Linked DNA regions of Homo sapiens: region 2 is linked to region 1. Evidence: promoter capture Hi-C in human tissues and cell types (Jung and others, 2019). All regions are on one chromosome and are shown on one strand. The core of a region is centred on a gene start or on the middle of the fragment in contact, and the rest is flanking DNA. Distances in the headings are between cores, read along the strand shown. Region 1 holds the start of MIXL1 (Mix paired-like homeobox). Region 2 overlaps ACBD3 (acyl-CoA binding domain containing 3).

Region 1 (4,330 bases), core at 198-2,697:
ACAGCTGTATGACCGCCAGGGGTGCAGAGAAAACAAGTCCACTCTCCCAGTGTTTAAATGAGGGCTGCTACTTAAAACTGCGCTTGGACACCGACCACGGGGCTACAGACAGACAAAAAGGCAGGCTTCTCCTTACCAACTCTAAGATTCTGATCTAAATTACTTTAGATAATAAACACGGCCGGGCGCGGTGGCTCACGCCTGTAATCCCAGCACTTTGAGGCGGGTGGATCACCTGAGGTCAGGAGTTCGAAACCAGCCTGACCAACATGGTAAAACCCCGTCTCTACTAAAAATACAAAAATTAGCTGGGCGTGGTGGCTGGCGCCTGTAATCTCAGCTACTCGGGAGGCTGAGGCAGGAGAATCACTTGAACCTGGGAGGCGGAGGTTGCAGTGAGCCCAGATCGCGCCATTGCACTCCAGCCTGGGCAACAAGAGTTAAAACTCCATCTCAAATAAAAACTAAATAAATAAAAATAAACACACCTTGCACTAGATTTTTCAAACTGAAAACAAGCTCCAGGTGCTTCTCGCTTTATCTCAATTCGCTACATCCTTTCAAATCTAATCCCAAAACGTAACACTTGCCAAGAAAGTAGCATGGGGGTAACTTGGCGAGCCAGCCTTCCCCGTTTTCAGCTACCATTCTCACGCTCAAAGCCAGAGGAAAACCCCAACTGCCCCTCATCTGTGTCTTCTTCCCGGATAAAGAAAAAGTGTAAAACTTCTTATCTTCCTGCTGGGAATTACTTTCTGGCCATTTCAGGGGACCGGCTAGCCTCCTAGGAGCCCTTATTATATTTAATAATGAGAGAAATCGTTCAGTGCAGGCCTAAATTATTTCACACAGGCCTCGCAACCACCCTATGCAGCAGGTGCCGATATCACCCCCTATTTCAGTCTAGTACGCAGAGCCTCAGGGGAAGCACCGTGCCTGCAACGTCCCGGGTGTGGCCTCAGGAGCCCGCAGTCCAGACCTAGAGTCCGCAGCGCCTCCGCTCCAGCGCGCACTTGCGAACGCAGCGGGCCCTCACCTGGATCCTGGACTCGGGGAGCAGGGTGAGCGCGGCCAGGCGCTCGCGCAAGTGGATGTCGGGGTACCGGGTCCGGCGGAAGACGAGCTCCAGCAGCTGCAGCTGTTCGGCGCTGAAAGACGTGCGCTTGCGGCGCTGCGACGCCGACGGGGCGGCCGCGCCTTTGGGGGGCGCAGGCGAGCCCAGGCTGGCGGGGGGCGGCGGGGCCGGCCCGGGGTCCCGGCCGAGGAAGCCCGCAAAGGTCGCTGGGCCGGGGCCCGCGGGCGGCGCAGGGAGCAGGGCTGCCGCAGGGCTCGGGGGCGGCAGGAGCGCCCCGCCGGCGTGGGGGGCCCGGTACGCTGGAAACGCGGCGCCCTCGGCAAACTGGAGCGCACGGGACTCGGCTGTGGCCATCGCTCCGGAACCCAGCGCGCCGCTCGGAGGGGCGCGGGCCGCACTTATACCCTCCCGGGCCAGGGGCTGGGAAGGCGGGGCGGTGCGATCAAAGGTGGGCTCGGGGAGACCCGTGTCTCCTCCGGGTGCGAGCCCGCCCCCGGCCCCGCCAGACGCCGGGGAATAATCGCTTCCGCCGGCTGCGGGATGCAGGAGGGAGGCGTGAACTTGGGTCCCGGCCCCCTCCGTGTTCTTCCCCGCCCACCCGCCCGGACGGCGCAATCCACATCCCCGAAGGACTATTTGCCTGGGAGGGGCAGCCCGGAGGGGCCCGGGTGCGCGGGCCGCAGGCGACAGAACTCTCTTCTCCGGGTCAAATCCCCGTTAAGAGCGGCGGAAGCACCTTGCCTGGCCTGTGCCTTACATGGCCTGGGCCTTGAGCCTTGCCCTAGTCCCGTCTGTCCTCATCAAAGCTATTTATTTACCACCCCTGCTATGTGCTAGACCCTGTACCAGGTTGGTCAAACAGCCCGGCCCCTGTCTTCTGCAAGCCTCCCTAACACATCCTGAATCCAAGCGGGGAGGGGGGTGAAGATAAAGGATCCAGGGGGCAGCACATTCCTCCTGATTAAATGGGTGGGGGGAGTGGGGGGGTCTGGCTGGAATGTCCATGGGCCCACCAATAAAGATACCCTAGGTAGGGCGGGGTTGGCAACGTGCCCCATTAGCAGAGGATACGGCGCAGTTTGGCCTTTCTGGAGATACTCAACAATGCTTAAGACCCGTCTATTGGATGGGAGGAGATGAAAGCCACCTCATGAAGTTTCCACGCGCCCTGAATCATCATTCTTTCCTCTGCCCCTTGGGGCTCTGAAAGCTCCCATTTTCTCTACTTTGTGCTATGGTTATGGTTTCTCTATCTGCTAGATATAAAGTCTTAGCAAGCAGGAACCCACCTCTCCCTTTCTGAGTTTATTGAGTGTCTGCTTTGTACACCTATTCTGCGTGAGGCGCGGTGCTAGGCCCCTTAGTGAATGTCTGTCGAATTGGATGTCACTGAGCTCTCCTTATTGAAAGAGAAACCCATGGTCCACTATGGGAACTGCCCCACCACAGTGCAAGAACTCAAGAGAGGAACACAGAGGCCCAGGTCTTTTTGCCCCCAGCACCTGAGCGCTGATTTCACCGGGATCACTCACTGTGGTCGACTCAAAGGGAGATCTTTATTGGGAGGATCTTTCAGGGCACAATCCCCGTCCTGTCTCTGCATTCTAGAAGGTCAAAAGACAGTCTCAGAAGAGCTTGGATCTTTTTATCCTGGGTGGACATTCCAGGTGGCAAAGCGGAAAGTTTTCTTGGAGCTGCTGCAGAGAAGAATTTTGGGCTTGATTCTCTCCTGGCTGTGGTAAGGGGTGGGGTTGGCAGGGACTGTGTCCTGTGTAGCCCCTGAGGCCCTTCTGGGCAGCTGATATACTTACCTCCTGCTCTTCCATCTTCCTTCCACCCCTTCTCCTTTCTTTCCCCCTCTTCTCTTGGTTGCAGTGAGCCAAGATTGTGCCATTGCACTCCAGCCTGGGCAACAAGAGTGAAACTCTGACTCAGAAAAAAAAAAAAAAGTTAATTCCCCAGCATCTCCAAAACAGCCAACATCCATTGGCCAGGTGCAGTGGCTCATGCCTGTAATCCCAGCACTTTGGGAGGCTGAGGCGGGCGGATCACCAGGTCAGGAGATCGAGACTATCCTGGCTAACACGGTGAAACCCCGTCTCTACTAAAAATACAAAAAAAAAAATTAGCCGAGCATGGTGGTGGGCACCTGTAGTCCCAGCTACTCAGGAGGCTGAGGCAGGAGAATGGCGTGAACCTGGGAGGTGGAGCTTGCAGTGAGCTGAGATCATGCCACTGCACTCCAGCCTGGGTGACAGAGCGAGACTTCGTCTCAAAATAAATAAATAAATAAATAAATAAATAAATAAATAAATAAACAATTATTAGCCGGGCGTGGTGGCACAAGCCTGTAATCCCAGCTACTCAGGAGGCTGAGGCAGGAGAATTGCTTGAACCCGGGAGGCAGAGGTTGCAGTGAGCCAAGATCGCGCCACTGCACTCCAGCCTGGGTGACTGACTGAGACTCCATCTCAAAAAAAAAAAAAAGAAAAGAAAAAGAAAAAAGAAATTACTTCTCCATGCGAGTGGATTTCCCATTTCACTTGGGATTTTCATTGACTAGGGTTGGAAAGATAGAAGTCATATTGAGTTTCTACAAAAGCACTTGAAATTAAAATGATTTGCTACTTCTCTTCTTTGACAGACACTTATAAACATATAAATGGTTTTCACTATATCCAAGTTCTAGATTCCTGACTCAGTTACCCTGCTGCAGGCATACAATGGATATGTATATCACATATCCATTTGCTAATTCTTCTATATTCAGTTTTTCAATAGGAAAATGGGAAGAGCCCTATCCTTGGCAATATAATTTTTAAAATAATTATTGCAAGTTATTTTCCCAAAACAGATACCCTGTGATGTATAAAGCTCCATAAAGTGCTTTTTTTCTACAGAAGCACATCAGCTGACCAGCTCCAGCATAGCAAACTTAAGTTCAGGGTTAGCTGAAGACAGCAATCACTGAGATTAGGATCTGGATTCCTCCCTCTCCAGCACCTGGGCGAGCTCACCACTTGATTTGCTGAGAGATTTTGGCCATTATTTACATTTAGTCTGTCAGTAACTTGAAATAGACACAAGGGAAGGCAAGGTGAAATAGAAGACAATCCTCAAGGATGCTTCCTGTATAATGAGGGAAGACCAGTAAATACAAGAGGCAGTAGGGAAAAAAAAACATGATTATCTGGATCCAGGGCCGGTTCTACAGCAGCCCAGTCTGGGCAGGATGGGGCCACTTGGGGTCACTGT
Region 2 (3,951 bases), core at 56-2,555, 51 kb after region 1:
TTCTTTTCCAAGCAGAATTTGTGTTTGGTTTTGTTTGCCATAGAAAGCAGAATTCCAAAATTGATTGAATTAAATAACTTTGTAATATTAATAATTAATGAGTGCAAGAGCCGAGGATGATGCTTGTGTTCCCTTCTGGGAGGACTGAAATAGAACTTTCCTTTAGGAATAGGGCCCTGGTTAAAGATTTTTGAGTTTCTACAAGGCTTTTTGTGTCTGTGCAGTTAGTGGTACTTATTATTTTCCTGCTAACTACATTTAACGTTTATGGTACCAGAAATAATTTAGAAGAAAATTATTCTTGGTTGGGTGCGGTGGCTCACACTGTAATCCCAGGTCTTCGGGGCTCTGAGGCAGGCGGATTACCTGATGTCAGGAGTTTTGAGACTAGCCCGGTCAACATGGTGAAACCCCTTCTGTACTAAAAATAAAAAAATTAGCTAGGTGTGGTAGTGCACACTTCTGTAATCCCAGCTACTGGGGAGGCTGAGGCAGGAGAATCACTTGAACCTGGGAGGTGGAAGTTGCAGTGAGTCGAGATCATCCCACTGCACTCCAGCCTGGGCAACAGAGTGAGACTCTGTCTCAAAAAAAAAAAAAAAAAAAAAGAAAAGAAAAAAAAAGAAGAAAATTATTCTCACCTGATTTAAAATACTAAACTCTTGTGATGTGTCAACCAGAGCCACCTGAAGAGTAAGAGAGCTGTAACCTTTTGTGTAATACTAATAGTCTGCATAGCAATATAGATTGTGAAGGATTTTTATTTTTCTGTGTTTTTTTTCTGAAGCTTAGAACTTCAGTACTGTGTGAACTGTGCTATACCGAAAGTGGTTGGGGTTAGCACAGCCTCCTGGGTTTTGTATATTCCTTGGGAGAATAATCTCTTAACCTCATCCCAAAGGCTGAAAATACATTGCTTCGACTTTAAAAATGTGTGTTAAAAAAGATAATGTGTATGTGTGTTTGATTACAAAGTACATATGCTTACTGAAAATTTGGGGAAATAAAAAATGAATAAATAAAATAAAATTAATTTGTAATACAGTCTTTCAAAAATAATTATTAGTATTAACATTTTGAATTTTGTTTCGTTTTGAGACAGGGTCTCACTCTGTCACTCAGGCTGGAGTGCAGTGGCACCATCATGGCTCACCACAGTCTCAATGCCCAAGATCAAGGGATCCTCTCATCTTGGCCACCCTAGTAGCTGGGACTGTGGTACACGCCACCATGCCCAGCTAAATTTTGGTTTTTTGTATGTGTGTGGAGACAGGATTTCACTTTGTTTCGCAGGCTGGTCTCAAACTCCTGGGCTCAAGCAATCCACCTGCCCTAGCTTTCCAAAGTGCCAGGATTATAGGCATGAGCCACCAGGCCCAGCTGGGTTTGTTTGTTTGTTTGTTTGTTGTTTAGACAGGGTCTTCATCTGTCACCCAGGCTGGAGTTCGGTGGTGCTTTCACAGTCTATTGGAGCCTCGACCTTCAGGCTCAAGCAATCCTGAGCCTCCAGAGAAGCCTGGACTTCAGGCGCATGCCGCCGCACCCAGCTGTATGCCACCACACCCAGCTGTTTTTTAGTTTTTTGTAGAGATGGGGTCTTGCAGTGTTGCCCAGGTTGGTCTCAAACTCCTGGACTCAAGTGATCCTCCCCCTTCAGCCTCCCAAAGTGTTGGGATTAGAGGTGTGAGCCACTGCACCTGGCTGTTTGTTTTCTTGATTTTTTTTTTGAGACAAATTTGGCTCTCATCTAGAAAAATTATTAATTTGGAGATTCAGTAGTAAGATTTAAAGAAAGGATTATAGAGCAATTATTTTTATTTTCTTCAGAGTCAGAATCTTAATGGATTGCCCAGGCTAGATTCTAACTTGTGGATTCAAATGATCTTCCTGTCTCAGCCTCCCAAGTAGGTGGGACTACAGGTGCATGCCACTGCAGCTGGCGATAGAGCAATTCTTAAAACTAGTACGTGCATAAAAGAGTAAATGGGAATGCAAGGACAGTTCACAAGAATGGATATACTGTTTTGTTCATTCTCACAGTAGTTGACCCATAAAGTCAATTTCTTTTGTGAGATTTGCTGGGCGTGTTTTTTGATGAGGGCCTGTGAACAAAAACGTAGGCTTAAGCACTGAAGTTCACAGAGGTCAGCGAATCTGTTTGCCTGACCAGGACTAGCACTGAAAATGTATTCCTCTTTTTTTTTTTTTTTGAGATGGAGTTTTGCTCTTGTTTCCCAGGCTGGAGTACAGTGGCACGATCTCGGCTCACTGCAACCTCCGCCTCCCAGGTTCAAGCAACTCTCCTGCTTTAGCGTCCCAAGTAGCTGGGATTATAGGTGTGCGCCAGCATGCCTGGCTAATTTTTGTATTTTCATTAGAGACGGGGTTTCTCATGTTAGTCAGGCTGATCTCAAACTCCTGACCTCAGGTGATCCACCCGCCCCAGCCTCCCAAAGTGCCGGGATTACAGGCATGAGCCACCGTGTGTGGCCACATATTCTTCTTTTTAAAAACACATTTATTGGCCAGGCACGGTGGCTCACGTCTGTAATCCCAGCATTTTGGGAAGCTGAGGCGGGCAGATCACCTGAGGTCAGGAGTTCAGGACCAGCCTGGCCAACCCAACATGGTGAAACCCCATCTCTGTGAAAAATACAAAAATTAGCCAGGCACGGTGGCGCACACCTGTAGTCCCAGCTACTCAGGAGGCTGAGGCACAAGAATCGCTTGAGCCCGGGAGGCAGAAGTTGCAGTGAGCCGAGATCACGCCACTGTGCTCCATCGTGGGTAACAGAGCAAGACTTCATCTCAAAATAATAAATAAATAAATATACTTTTTAAGTTTGCACTGTATTTTTAATTCTGTCAGGTGTAAAAAGGGCAGACGTTAAAATAACATCCAAAAGTACTGAAACTCGACCAGGCACAGTGGCTCACACCTGTAATCCCAGCATTTTGGGAGGCCAAGGTGGGTGGATCACCTGAGATCAGGAGTTCGAGACCAGCCTGGCCAACATGGTAAAACCTCGTCCCTACTAAAAAGTACAAAAAGTAGCCAGGCGTGGTGGTGCATGCCTGTAATTCCAGCTACTTGGGAGGCTGAGGCAGGAGAATCCCTTGAACCAGGGAGATGGAGGTTGCAGTGAGCCGAGATTGTGCCACCACACTCCAGCCTGGGTGACAGAGCGAGAGTCTGTCTCAGAAAAAAAAAAAATTGTTTACTTACCATCCCTCAAAGACCCTGCGCCTAGTTCACATTATCAAATGCTTGAAATAAAGAGACAAGTTGGCCAGGCATGGTGGCTCGTGTCTATAATCCCAGCACTTTGGAAGCCTAGGGCGATTGATTACTTGAAGCCAGGAGCTCGAGACCAACCTGGGTAACATGGCAAAACCCTCTGTCTACAAAAACACAAAAATTAACTGGGCATAGTGGCACTCACCAGTAGTTCCAGCTACTCAGGAGGCTGAGGTGGGAGAATCCCTTGAGCCCAGGAGTTCAAGGCTGCAGTGAGCTGTGATCGTGCCACTGCCCTCCAGCCTGGGTGACAGAGTGAGAACCTGTCTCAAAAAGAAGCAAACGTATCATCTGGTAGGAAATGAACCCTCCCTCCATTAGTAGAAAACCCAAATAGCAGTATTTTACAGATAACTTTATAGCAATAGTCAGGGATTTCAAAAAATTTTTTTCATATCCACTTGCCCCATCTATTAGTTCAAATCATCTTCCTGCAGCAAAAAAAAATTTTGTGTGTGTGTATGTTCGAAATTGCTGTTTTGCATGACTAATCAGAAAAGTTGTCTTCAGGTGAATAGTTTCCATGTGATTTTATCTTTACTGACATTTATTTAGATAAAACTACTTAATTGAGTTTATTCTTAAAAAAAGAAAGGCCGAGCACGGTGGCTCACGTCTGTAATCTCAGCACTTTGGGAGGCCCAGGTGGGCAG

The links. The method cuts DNA at HindIII sites, captures the fragments that hold promoters and counts their contacts. A contact is called where the count stands out against the background at its distance.
Region 2: a fragment that was not itself captured here is called in contact with the fragment with the promoter of MIXL1 in region 1 in 2 of the 25 tissues and cell types used here (H1 embryonic stem cells and mesendoderm cells).

The regions. Positions count from the first base shown.
Region 1 is chr1:226,220,781-226,225,110 of GRCh38, reverse strand. It overlaps MIXL1 (Mix paired-like homeobox), which reads right to left and starts at 1,447. Exons shown (of 2, transcript NM_031944.3): 1 at 1,037-1,447. The coding sequence starts at 1,429. LOC124904528 (a long non-coding RNA gene) reads right to left here and starts at 2,972. Exons shown (of 2, transcript XR_007066907.1): 1 at 2,887-2,972; 2 at 2,613-2,772. RefSeq lists a silencer at 729-1,023 and an enhancer at 1,069-1,128. The HindIII fragment of the contact is 15,954 bases long and covers 1-4,330 here.
Region 2 is chr1:226,170,415-226,174,365 of GRCh38, reverse strand. All of the region lies in intron 1 of ACBD3 (acyl-CoA binding domain containing 3), which reads left to right. Among named protein-coding and RNA genes, the nearest start is that of ACBD3, 14 kb to the left of the region's middle. The HindIII fragment of the contact is 6,469 bases long and covers 1-3,951 here.